4 separate regions of the Homo sapiens genome follow, and regions 1, 3 and 4 are each linked to region 2. The links are contacts of gene promoters, found by promoter capture Hi-C in blood cells and fetal thymus (Javierre and others, 2016). All regions are on one chromosome and are shown on one strand. The core of a region is centred on a gene start or on the middle of the fragment in contact, and the rest is flanking DNA. Distances in the headings are between cores, read along the strand shown. Region 1 holds the start of RSPH9 (radial spoke head component 9). Region 2 holds the start of CAPN11 (calpain 11). Region 3 overlaps POLH (DNA polymerase eta). Region 4 overlaps POLH (DNA polymerase eta).

Region 1 (3,350 bases), core at 82-2,581, 510 kb before region 2:
ATAACAATGCCTTCCTAAACAATGCCTAAGCCTGGGCGTGGTGGTTCACACCTGTAATCCCAGCACTTTGGGAGGCTCAGGTGAGTGGATCACTTGAGCTCGGAGTTCAACACCAGCCTGGCCAACATGGCAAAACCCCGTCTCTACTAAAAATACAAAAAATATTGGGTGTGGTGGCACACACCTGTAGTCCCAGCTACCTGGGGGGCTGAGGTGGGAAGATCACTTGAGCCCAGGAGGTTGAGGCTGCAGTGAGCTGAGATCACACACCACTACACTCCAGCCTGGGTGACAAAGTGAGACCCTGTCTCAACCCCCGAAAACCAACAATGCCCAGACAATCAAAAAAGTAATTATCTGGGTTATTTACACACTTATTTATCAGCTGGGGCCCAGGTCATTCTGATTTCCTGAGTGCTCTTCAAAGGAATCCAGAAATGAAAATATCAACTAGCAACATTAACGATAAAGCCCATCTCCTGTGGCAACAAGCTTGCTGAGGAACCTGTTTGTTTGTCCTTGGCTGGGGACTCAAGAAGTGAATGTGGAGAAGTGATCTAGCCCAGGGAGTGAAGCTCCAGTTGCAGTGAGGTTCTGGCCTTTCATCTCTTGCTACCATTTGGATCTAAAAACAACAGTTGGTGGTAGTTGGTAGTTGATGAGAAAGGTGGTAGTTGATGAGAAAGTGTAGTCTATAAAAGTCCCCCTTTTTGTATCTCTCTCCTCACCCTCCTTTCCCAAGGTGTTACCCTATACCTTGCCCCCATTGCCTAGATTTTCATTTGTCACTTAGAATATTTCTATGGAAAGGGTAGATAAAGAAGACAGCTGGTGAAGATGGAAGAGAATGGATGGACCTCATTCTGTAAGACCTGGCTTGGGGTGGGGTGCGGGTGGAGGTAGTCGGGTTGACAGAATCTTAATTAGAGCCAGGAGGAATCTCAAATTCTTCACAGATCATTCTGAGGTCAAGAAGTGACATGACTGGGGTGAAATAGTACAGTTAGTGTCAGTGTTGGGGTTTTGTATTGTTTTCTTTCCAGACCCCAGGTCCATATACAGTAAAGACTCTAAATGTCGACTATGTGAAAGGGCTCAGGGAAGGCCAAATATCTATGGAAAAAGGCTGGGTTTGGACTTACAACCCCAACTGTAGCCTAACTGTAGGGGAAGCCATACTGTGGCCGTGGCAACTGAAGACATCCCGTCCCAAACTCTGGAAAGGATGAGGGAGGGGGCTGATGCCTAGGCCTCCGTGGGGAGGAGGTCTGGGCGGTAGGCGGTGGGGTGGGTGGAACCTAGCGTCCAGCTAGGCGGAAGGGCGGAGCTTCAGGTCTCCATGGAGGCGGCTTCTCCTAGCAACTCGACGGGCGTTGAGCGGAGCCGCTGACCTGATGGACGCCGACAGCCTCCTGCTGTCTCTGGAGCTGGCGTCCGGCAGTGGGCAGGGCCTCAGCCCGGACCGTCGGGCCTCGCTGCTCACGTCTCTTATGCTGGTTAAGCGCGACTACCGCTATGATCGGGTTCTCTTCTGGGGCCGCATCCTTGGCCTCGTCGCCGATTACTACATCGCGCAGGGCCTGAGTGAGGACCAGCTCGCACCGCGCAAGACGCTCTATAGGTGAGGAGGCCCCCGGGACGGGCTCCCCAGAGGGTGGCTACCTGGAGGCAGGGCGGGGTGGGCGGGTCGCAGCAATTGAAAGGGGCGGGGCCCATGGGGCCAAGGGAGGTGTGGGCGGGATCTGAGATGAGTGGAATGGGGGAGACCCTGGGGGGCGGGCCTGGGGACGGTCAAGAGGTGGTTGAGGGAAAGGGCGGGGATGGGGATGTCTCGGAATCTGAGGCTAGGGCGGAGCCTGAGAGGGCGGGGCAATGGACGGGCGATGTCCCCCGGAGGGCGGGGCCTTGCGAGAGCTTGTTCTCCGCCTGAGGAGGCCAAGAGAAACTTACATGCGGATGGGTTTATAAGAGAGACAGGGCCAAGAACGCAGGTGAAGCAGTGGGAAGGTTTCTGGAAAATGCGGACCTGGAGAAGAAGCCAGGTTCCAGCCAAGTGCTGGGCCTGGCTCAGTTTGGAGAAGGCTCAGTTTGGAGAAGAGTCAGACGCCAGAGGGAGAGGGTGGTGCTCTTTGATAGAGGTATCTGCTCTGGAGCTGGAGGCGCTTTTGGAAATAGAGAACGAATGCGGAATGGGGAGAGAGCTGGGGAAAATTCCCTGGTCACTACCATACAGGACCATCCAGCTATTTATTTATTTATTTTTGTTTTGAGGCAGAGTCTTGCTCTGTCACCCAGGCTGGAGTGCAGTGTCGCTATCTTGGTTCACTGCAACCTCCGCCTCCCGGATTCAAGCGATTTTCCTGCCTCAGCCTCCCAAATAGCTGGGATTACAGGCACGTGCCACCACACCTGGCTATTTATTTATTATTATTATTATTATTATTTTAGACGGAGTCTCGCTCTGTCGCCCAGGCTGGAGTGCAGTGGCTCGATCTCGGCTCACTGCAAGCTCCGCCTCCTGGGTTCACGCCATTCTCCTCCCTCAGCCTCCCGAGTGGCTGGGACTACAGGCGCCCGCCACCATGCCCGGTTAATTTTTTTTTGTATTTTTAGTAGAGACGGGGTTTCACCGTGTTAGCTAGGATGGTCTCGATCTCCTGACCTCGTGATCCGTCCGCCTCAGCCTCCCAAAGTGCTGGGATCACCCACCGCGCTTGGCAATTATTTATTTATTTATTATTTTTGTAATTTTAATAGAGACAGGGTTTCACTATGCTGGTTAGGCTGGTCTCGAACTCCTGGCCTCAAGTAATCCACCCGCCTCGGCCTCCCAAAGTGCTGGGATTACAGGCGTGAGCCACCATGCCCGGCCAGCCTCTTTTTGACTAAAGGGGAGCTTACTACCTTACAAAGCAGTCCATTCGGCCAGCCTGGGCAATATAGCAAGACCTCATCACTACAAAAAAAAAAAAAAAAGGCAGGGTGTGGTGGCTCACGCCTTTAATCCCAGCACTTTGGGAGGCAGAGTTGGGCGGATCACGAGGTCAGGAGATTGAGACCATCCTGGCTAACGCGGTGAAACACTACTGAAAATACGAAAAATTAGACGGGCGTGGTGGCGGGCGCCTGTAGTCCTAGCTACTCGGGAGGCTGAGGCAGAAGAATCACTTGAATCTGGGAGGCGGAGGTTGCAGTGAGCTGGCATCATGCCACGCACTCCAGCCTGGGTGACAGAGTGAGACTCCGTCTCAAAAAAAAAAAAAGAAAAAAAAAAAGGAAAATTTGCAGGGCATGGTGGTGCATACCTGTAGTCCCAGCTACTCGGTAGGCTGAGGTGGGAGGATTGCGCC
Region 2 (3,283 bases), core at 578-3,077:
GGCCTGGACAGACCTCAGCCCCCACCTCTGGTTAGCCGAGACCCTCTCATTCCTCATCTGCCCAGCATGCCTTCCCTTTCCTGCAGGGCCTGAAGTTCAAAGCCAGGTTCCAGCATTTCCAAATGTGAAACTCCAGATAATGCCCAAGCAGCACACTGAGCAAGAGTCCTGAGGACAGCCCTCCCCCAGGGTGGGAGGCTGTAATAGAGAGGAACACCCGTGCCTGCCTGCACCCTACCCCTGGCACCTCGTCACAGAGTTCATGTCCAGGCAGATCACATTAGAGGCATCCAAGAGGTGCAATAGTGGAATCAGGAGTGGGCAGGGGAGACCACAGGATCCCCAAAGACCACTTCCTCCTTTCACAGCTGGGGGCAGCAGAAGATACGGATAAGAGCTAAAGTTATGGCCGGGCACGGTGGCTTATGCCTATAATCCTAGCGCTTTGGGAGGCCGAAGCGAGTGATCACCTGAGGTCAGGAGTTCGAGACCAGCCTGCCCAACATGGCGAAACCCCGTCTCTACTAAAAATACAAAAATTAGCTGGGCATGGTGGTGGGCACCTGTAATCCCAGCTACTTGAGAGGCTGAGGCAGGAGAATCGCTTGAACCCGGGGGGCAGAGGTTGCAGTGAGCTGAGATTGCACCACTTCACTCCAGCCTGGGCAAAAGAGCGAGACTCCATCTCAAAAAAAAAAAAAAAAAAAAAAATCTGAAGTTATTAGTTTAAATCCTGGCTCGACCGCTTAACAGCTGTGTGACCCTGGGCAAGTTGCATCATACCTCTAGACCTCACTTTCCTCATCTATAAAATGGGAATAGCAATGTCATGGCCTCTGGCTGTTTTAAGGATTAAATAAGTAGGAAGTTCTTAGCCCAGTGTTTGGCACATAATAACAAACCATAATTAATATTCTCGTAGATGAGGAGATTGAGTCCCAGAAAGGAGAAAGGGGGAGGGCTCGCCCAAGGTCAGCTCCTGTTTCAGAGCTTGGAACAAGGTTCTCTGATCCCATTGGGTGCTCTCACACCTGTTCTGTGCCTGATTAGCACCAGGCAGGGCTGAGGGGCACTGGGATGACCTTGACAGTCCCTGTCCTCAGCCATCATACACTCCAGAGAAGACTGCACTCTGGAGCAGAGTTCTTAGCTCAAAGCATTCCCACTTTCCAGTGCAGAGGCAGGACATGTGGTCAGACCAGTGGCCTAACCTTGCCAGACTGGGGCTAGGCAAGGAGAGTGTTGCAGGTGGAATCGTGTCCCCCAAAAAGGCATGTTGAAGTCCTGGCCCCCAGTACTTCAGAATGTGACCTCATTTGGAAACAGGGTGGTTGCAGATGTAATTCGTTCAATTAAGATGAGGTCATACTGAAATGCATGGGACCCTAGCCCCATATGACTGGTGTCCTTATAAGAAGAAGAGACACAGAGGAGGGTGCCATGTGAAGACAGCAACACAGGAAAAATGCCATGTCAGTGAGAAAGGGGCTTTTGGGAATGAGAAGGCTTTCTGGATGTAAAGGTCAGGTTGGTGTGTCAGGGACAACCCCTTCCTGGAAACCTTGGGCTGAAAAAAAGGGACTGGGACCTACCCTGATGGGATGACCGTGATACAGTGAGGACAGCCAGGCTGGTGGAGGCTGTGCAAGGCAGGGGTGCTGGGTCATCTGTCCCTAAAGCGGGTAGCCCTCAGCTGGGTAAGGGGCTGGGTTACTGAGAAGGAGAAAAGGGAAGGCAGCTGTTAAACCGGCTGCTGACCTAGGAATCCCACTGCAATGAGAGAGTTCTGGGGGGAGGGTCTCTTCTCCCCCTCCCACCAGAACCTTCAACTGTCAAGCACCGAGCTAGCCACCAGCATGCTGTACTCCCCAGGTAGGCACTCATGGGGCCTTGCCCCACTCCTGTACCTCCTGCAGGCTAGAGCCTCCCCCCAGGGGAGGAGCTGTGTCCCGCATCAGACTGGGTGCCCCTTGAGGGTACAGAGAGTGACTCTTCCATCAGACTGGATGCCCCTTGAGGGTACAGAGAGTGACTCTTCCATCAGACTGGATGCTCCCTAAGGACAGGACCTGGGCCTCGTTCTCAGACTGTTTGGGGAAGGATAGGCCACTGGTGGTCAGACTGGGTGGTAGGCCGGGCAGGAACTCTTTCTCCTCTCCACTGACAGTTGGAGTTGGGGAGAGGAGAGGGGCCGGCCATCCCACTGTCATGGCTGCTGGGGAAAAGGGTTTGTGTGAAAAAGCCCACGTAGAGAAGAAAACTTTAGGGAACAGAGAGAACCTCTCCTAAGCCTAGAAAAGCAGGTCCCTCAGCCCAGGAAGATGAGATCCTCAGGGTGGCAGGGGCAGGACTACCTGAGGCAAGCCTGGGACCAGACTCCAGGAGATGGGGGAGAGTGGGCTGGGGGGAAGGGGAGGGCTGGGCAGAACTGAGTTGTTCCTGTGGGGCTAGGGTGCACAGAGGGCAGCCAGCCTTGGCCAGCAGAAGGTCAGCCCTGTACCTCACCCTCAGCCTGGGGCACCGTGAGACCATGGGCCCCTAGACCCAGCCTCCCAGCTTCTCAGGCCCTCCCTGTTTACCTGACCCTAGGAAGTTTAGGCCTAGCTGGTGACCCCAAACCCAGTCCTTGTTCTTCAGAAGTGCCCTGAGCCCAGGAGTTCAAGACCAGCCTGGTCAGCATAGCAAGACCTCATCTCAAAATATAATTTATTTATTTATTATTATTACTTATTAGTATTTATTTTTTTTTAAAGTTCCCTGACACAACATCTTAGTTTTTTCCCAGTGCCGGAAATCAAACTGTCCTTAAATCTATAGTCCCCTAATAACAATGTATTGCATTTAGAAAATCACTGAGAGAGGCCAGGCACAGTGGTTCACGCCTGTAATCCTAGCACTCTGGGAGGCCAAGGCAGGTGGATCATCTGAGGTCAGGAGTTCGAGACCAGCCTGGCCAACATAGTGAAACCGTGTCTCTACTAAAATACAAAAATTAGCCATGCGTGGTGGCGGGCGCCTGTAATCCCAGCTACTCGGGAGGCTGAGGCAGGAGAATCTCTTGAACCCAGCAAGTGGAGGTTGCAGTGAGCCGAGATCGTGCCACCGCACCCCAAGCCTGGGCGACACAGCGAGACTCCATCTCAAAAAAAAAAGAAAATCACTGACAGTAGATTTTAAGTGTTCTCACCACAAACAAATAACAAGTATGTGCAGTAATGCAGATATTAATTAGCTCAACTGAGCCATTCCACAGTGAATACATATTTCAAAACACCATGTCGTA
Region 3 (3,230 bases), core at 709-3,208, 550 kb before region 2:
TATTTGCTTCCTTGATTTATTCAAATCTCTGTGCATGTATTACATTCTCCAGGAGGTCCTCCCTAGTTACCCTATCACAGCAGCAGCCTCCATCACTCTCTGCCTTATTCTGCTTTTCTTCATAGCACTCATCTCTGTGGTCATTTCTGTTACATGTCTATTTTTTATTATCTATAGTTCCTACTACAACATAGGATCCATGAGGACCTGGACTTTATTTTGTTCTCTCCTGCATCTCTAGGCACTGTCTAGGCATGCAGTTATAGTTGAATAATTTTGGTCAACAAGGACTCCTTTATAATTGCTAATTTGTATTCCCTCAAGATATATAAATCCATACAAATGTATTTTTTATCCAAAAAGTAGTTCCTGCTCTTAGCTTGTTTGCCTTAGGGATACTTCTTCTCACTAGCATCTTTTGATAGGGGTCCCTTATGTAGAATTTTCACCTTCTTATATTTCTGCCTCTTGACCATTATGTCTCAGTTTGCTGAGATTACAGCATTCAGATGCTTCAGACTTCACTGAAAAGTGAGTCATGATCTTGCTCTCTCAAGGCAGGCTCACTATATGGTATCTTCTCTAGATAAGCTGTAAAAAGGTGTTGGTAGAAACTTCTGGAATTGGTGGCGAATGTTTGTTTACCATAAGAGCCCCAGGGCAGAAAAAAAGATATGACTTGAAGCCTAGTTCCACTTTGCTTTCAGACAATTACTTACCTGAAACCTTCCTTCAGTCACAAAATAGTATCTAGTATTGTAGATATTTGTTATAATTGTCCTGCTTAGACACCATGAAAAACATTTAGGGGAGTCCCATTTTCATTTGTGCTGTCCTGTTCCCATCATCTGTCAAAACATCCTAGGATACTCCGATGTTCCATAATCCAAATTATGTCTTCTTCAGTTACTTTTTACACCCAGAAATAGCATTAACACTTTTTTGTGGAACCATGTAATCAGATTTCTATTCAGAAAATGCATTCTGTTGCATATATATAGATTCTTTTTTTTTTTTTTTTTTTTTTTGAGACAGAGTCTTGCTCTGTCATCCAGGCTGGAGTGCAGTGGCACCATCTTGGCTCACTGCAACCTCTGCCTCCCAGGTTCAAGCAATTCTCCTGTCTCAGCCTCCCGAGTAGCTGGGATTACAGGTGCCTGCCACCACGACTGGCTAGTTTTTTTGTATTTTTCAGTAGAGATGGGATTTCGCCATGTTTGCCAGGCTAGTCTCGAACTCCTGACTTCAGGTGATCCACCTGTCTCAGCCTCCCAAGGTGCTGGGATTACAGGCGTGAGCCACCATGCCTGGCCTCTTTCTCTTTTTTATATTTTATCTTTACTCTTTGCAGAACTCAGTTTACCTTTATTCTTGACTTTTAAACTACTGTTTCCAAACCATTGTCACCCTGGTTCTTTTAATTTCCTCTCCTGCAGTTCAGTACCTAGAATTCAGATGCTCCTCATAACTTTATTTCTGGTCTCCATCCTTTCCACCCACAGAATGACAGGGTAGCCACCCAGCTGGTTGTGAGCATTCGTGTACAAGGAGACAAACGCCTCAGCAGCCTGCGCCGCTGCTGTGCCCTTACCCGCTATGATGCTCACAAGATGAGCCATGATGCATTTACTGTCATCAAGAACTGTAATACTTCTGGAATCCAGACAGAATGGTGAGTTCTTTTCTAGCTCATCTTCTCAGAATAGATGATGATTCTTAGCTCTGTCTTAGCTCTACAAGACATAATTTTTATCATAAAGTTCCTCATTGTGTCTAATCACTCAAATTTTCACATGAGCTGAATTTCAGAAGATGAAATATGCTTTTATGTACAGATTAGTCCTTCAATGAGGTAAAGGGTAAATGTCATTTTAAAGTTATTATTAAAGTATCGGCCGGGCGCAGTGGCTCACGCCTGTAATCCCAGCACTTTGGGAGGCCAAGGTGGGTGAATCACCTGAGGTCTGTCTCAGTTCTACAAGTAGTAGGAATCTCTGTCTTAGCTCTACAAGTAGTAGGAATCTGAGCTCTTCCATCTGGGATAGACTCTGACTCAGACTACCAGTACCTGTTACTCTGGGAGAAAATACAGTACCAACCTCAGAAACAAGACAGCTCAGCACAGATCCTTTGCCGACAGCTGATACATTCCAGTTCCCAGGAGGTTAGACCCTTACTCTGTATTGGCTTGGTCAGGGAAATGACCAGTTGCACTTGGAGAACAGAGCTCAAATTTCAAGGATACATTTGGGAACTTCAAACTACTTGATTGTTCTATCTTAAAAGCATATTTCTTGATTATAAAGGTGACCTGTGTTCACTGATATTCTCTATCTGACATCCCAACTCAGTTACAAGCTCCACTGGTATTATACCAAATGTCATATTCATTAGTAAACTTCACTTCTGTTGGTCATGAAATATAAGCCTCTTTTTGGAGCATCTTCATTTTCTGTCCAGATATTAATGATTTTCAGGATTGGAATCCTTTAATTGCATATTTAATAAAGCCCTTACTTTTTTTAAAGTATTCCAAATTCACAATAGAAATATAATTATGAGAGAGAGGTAAGTCAGTTGCTCACTTACAGATGTATATTGAATATTATACAAAATAAAATCAAAGTTTAGTTAATCGCTTATTACTTATCTAAATATATTGGCAGTATAATTATGTGTACAGACCTATAATATGGTGGAGTCTCCTAGTCTTTGTTCATAGGGCCGGGCGCGGTGGCTCACGGCTGTAATCCCAGCACTTTCGGAGGCCGAGGCAGGCAGATCACCTGAGGTCAGGAGTTCAAGAGCACCCCAGCCAACATGGTGAAACCCTGTCTCTACTAAAAATACAAAAATTAGCCAGGCATGGTGGTGGATGCCTATAATCCCAGCTACTTGGGAGGCTGAGGCAGGAGAATTGCTTGAACCTGGGAGGTGGAGGTTGCGGTGAGCCGAGATTGCGCCATTGCACTCCAGCCTGGGCAACAAGAGCGAAATTCCGTCTCCAACAACAACAACAACAAATAAATAAATAAATAAATAAAGTCTTTGTTCTGAGAATAATTTACTTAATACTTCCTGATATATTTATTTTCAAATATTGAAGTTTTACAAAACCAAATAACAACCGTGGTACTAATGTACACATGAAACCTTATTTGAAAAGTTATAAATTGACAAACTATAACAAATACTACTCACCAACGGTGTGAAACTCCGTGATGCACAGG
Region 4 (3,168 bases), core at 60-2,559, 570 kb before region 2:
TGGCTCTTTAAAGTTTATTTGAGAATTACATACTCTTAAAAATTTGTTGAAAGCTATAGACCCTTGCTGGCCTCCGAAAAATTTGTATCTATACATAAGACAATTTTGCATGCAGTTTTCAGGAGATTCACAAACCCTCTGAAATCCACATACCTCAGAATTAGAACTAGTCTTACACATTATATTGGTTTTTGCTGCAGAGCATTGTTGAAGCATTCTATTATCTCTGGCTGAAGATGGTATATACCTTCCTTGGTAGTTGAATGTTAACTCAGATGGACGTGTTCCTCTTTCTTCTACACTTACTTTTCTTACCTATGTACATTTTTTTATTAAAAATGCCCATGTTTATAGAGAGGTCTATTTCTGTATGTCTTGTGTCTGTTGCATTAGTGTGTCCAACTTAAATATTAAGCTCCCAGATGCAGTGCCAGCATCTTATTATATGTAATGTTCAGAACAGTGCAATGTCTAGGAAATATTTCATATCATATTCCTGAATCTTTGATGTGTGCAACCACAAAAACCTGATAACAGAAATTAGCTGATCTAAGTGGATATAACCTTCCAGAAATCATTTTTCATGGATACAATATATTTCAAATCTAAGAAAAGAGGCGAGGTATTTGTAATACCTTGATACTGAGCTTTCCATCAACTTTTCCATCTTGCCTCCTATAAGAGCTAGCAATCATGCTCAGCCCTCCTGCATTTGCAGCTTTGTATCTTCTTTTTTTTTTTTTTTTTTGGAGAGGGAGTCTCTTTCTCGCTCTGTCGCCCAGGCTGGAGTGCAGTGGTGCAATCTCGGCTCACTGCAATCTCCACCTCCCGGGTTCACGCCATTCTCCTGCCTCAGCCTCCCGAGTAGCTGGGACTACTGTTGGCCGCCACCACGCCCGGCTAATTTTTTTGTATTTTTTTTAGTAGAGACGGGGTTTCACCGTGTTAGCCAGCATGGTCTCGATCTCCTGACCTCGTGATCTGCCCGCCTTGGTCTCCCAAAGTGCTGGGATTACAGGCGTCAGCCACTACGCCTGGCCTTGTATTTTCTAAAATAGTTATTTGTGTGTAAAGTTTAAGTAGTAAGATTTACTTAAAGTACTTCTCAGAAATTGTCAAGGTGAAACTTTCCCATCATTGCCATTTTGTAACTGGTTTGTTAGCTAAGGGCCTTTTCTTTTCCCTTTGTTTTTTCTTAATTCATTTCTTTATTATTTTAAAACACAGAGACATGGTCTCACTATGTTGCCCGGGCTGGTCTTGATGAGTTCCTGGCCTCAAGCAATTTTCCCACTTCAGCGTCCCAAAGTGCCAGGATTATAGGCGTGAGCCACTGCACCTGGCCTTACAAAACAGTTTTATAATGATTATTTTTGAGATGGGGTCTCACTGTGTTGCCCATGTTACCTGTGAACTCATGCTCAAGTGATCCTCCCACTTGAGGCTTCCAAGTAGCTGGAACTATCGGCATGTGCCACTGTGTCTGGCTTTATCTTATAATGATCATATAATTATTATTAAAGATTATAAAATTCAATGGAAAGATTATACTATCCTCATGTATCAAAAGACTAAATCTTACTAGTGCTCAATTCTCCCCAAATTGACGTATAGATTCATTGCAGTCCCTTCCAAAATCCCACAGAAATTGACAAACTGATTCTAAAATTTGTATGGAAATGCAAAGAATGTGGAGTAGCCAAACAACTTTGAAAAAGAACTAAGTTGGAAGACATACTACCTGATTTCAAGATTTAACTATAAATTTGTAACTAGGGAAGTTTGGTATTGGTGTGAGAAAATACGTAGATTAATGGTATAGAATAGAAAGTATACAAGTAGATCCCCACTTTTCAGGCTGGGGTGTGTGTGGTGGCAATTCATTTCCACAAAGGTGCCAAGATAATTCAACAAGAAAAACTCTTGGCTGGGCACAGTGGCTCACGCCTGTAATCCCAGCACTTTGAGAGGCCAGGGTGAGCGAATCATGACGTCATGAGATTGAGACCATCCTGGCCAACATGGTGAGACCCTGTCTCTACTAAAAATACAAAAATTAGCTGGGTGTGGTGGCGCATGCCTATAATCCTAGCTTTTCGGGAGGGTAAGGCAGGAGAATTACTTGAACCCAGGAGGCAGAGGTTGCAGTGAGCTGAGATTGCGCCACTGTACTCCAGCCTAGCAACAGAGTGAGACTCCGTCTCAAAAAAAAAAAAAAAAAAAAAGAAAGAAAGAAAAGTTTTTTCTCAGCTTTCATGGGCATTTAACACCAGAACTACCTGAAGTATTTCCTGTAGTCCATTTCATGGTATTGAAGAAAAACCAAAATTTTATAGATTTTTCTTATCAACTAGAGAAAAGGTAAAAAGCATTGTAGGGAAATAAGGGAATTCTGCTTATCTTCTGTGGTCCCGTTCAGTTAATACAGATAAAGGATTAAATTTAAAAATCTACATTGCCACAGGATTGCAACATTACCCAATCTGGGAAAGCAATGATGAAAAAAATCTAAAGCAGAGAAAATTTAGCTCTAACTGTTTAAAAAGGTCCAGAAAGTCATACAATTACAGTAAATTATTCATATTTTTGTTTCCCAAAGCTAATATATACTAGTATAAATTGTTTTAAATGATGGATGTTTTAATAGTATTTATTGTTCTTAATATGTGCAAGCCTTGGTATTTCAGGAAAACAGATAATTAAAAAAAAAGCAAAAAATGCGCAAGCCACTGTGCTGAGGAACTTTATTTTTAAAAACTACCTTTTGGCCGGGCACAGTGGCTCACGCCTGTAATCCCAGCACTTTGGGAGCCCTTGAGGTCAGGAGTTCAAGACCAGCCTGGCCAACATGGTGAAACCCCATCTCTACTAAAAATACAAAAATTATCTGGGCCTGAAGGTTCACAGCTGTAGTCCCAGCTACTCCGGAGGCTGAAGCAGGATAATTGCTTGAACCTGGGAGGTGGAGGTTGCAGTGAGCTGCACTCTAGCCTGGGCAACAGAGCAACTCCGTCTCAAAAAAAATAAAAAATAATAAACTATCTTTTAATCCTCATAACAGCTATATGAAGTGCAGTTTGTAGACAAGGAAATTGAAGCTTAGAGAATTATGTAACTTGTCCAAAGTCACATGGTCAGTAGGTTATGAAGCCAATATTTGAACCCTGC

What was found. Contacts are between HindIII fragments. The CHiCAGO score rates a contact against its expected background, and 5 or more counts as called.
Region 1: a contact is called between the fragment with the promoter of RSPH9 here and the fragment with the promoter of CAPN11 in region 2, in 2 of 17 cell types (M1 macrophages and activated CD4 T cells). The highest score is 7.3, in M1 macrophages.
Region 3: a contact is called between a fragment that was not itself captured here and the fragment with the promoter of CAPN11 in region 2, in 2 of 17 cell types (M1 macrophages and total CD8 T cells). The highest score is 5.6, in M1 macrophages.
Region 4: a contact is called between a fragment that was not itself captured here and the fragment with the promoter of CAPN11 in region 2, in 3 of 17 cell types (erythroblasts, M2 macrophages and M0 macrophages). The highest score is 6.7, in erythroblasts.

The regions. Positions count from the first base shown.
Region 1 is chr6:43,643,705-43,647,054 of GRCh38, forward strand. It overlaps RSPH9 (radial spoke head component 9), which reads left to right and starts at 1,332. Exons shown (of 5, transcript NM_152732.5): 1 at 1,332-1,621. The coding sequence starts at 1,395. RefSeq lists a silencer at 751-939. The HindIII fragment of the contact is 7,744 bases long and covers 491-3,350 here.
Region 2 is chr6:44,156,993-44,160,275 of GRCh38, forward strand. CAPN11 (calpain 11) reads left to right here and starts at 1,828. Exons shown (of 23, transcript NM_007058.4): 1 at 1,828-1,872. The coding sequence starts at 1,857. It overlaps LOC107986599 (a long non-coding RNA gene), which reads right to left and starts at 1,611. Exons shown (of 3, transcript XR_002956350.2): 1 at 1,593-1,611. RefSeq lists an enhancer at 3,005-3,174. The HindIII fragment of the contact is 9,288 bases long and covers 1-3,283 here.
Region 3 is chr6:43,609,052-43,612,281 of GRCh38, forward strand. It overlaps POLH (DNA polymerase eta), which reads left to right. Exons shown (of 11, transcript NM_006502.3): 10 at 1,503-1,672. Among named protein-coding and RNA genes, the nearest start is that of GTPBP2, 19 kb to the right of the region's middle. RefSeq lists a silencer at 2,910-3,135. The HindIII fragment of the contact is 4,533 bases long and covers 1-3,230 here.
Region 4 is chr6:43,591,675-43,594,842 of GRCh38, forward strand. All of the region lies in intron 4 of POLH (DNA polymerase eta), which reads left to right. Among named protein-coding and RNA genes, the nearest start is that of POLH, 17 kb to the left of the region's middle. The HindIII fragment of the contact is 3,573 bases long and covers 1-3,096 here.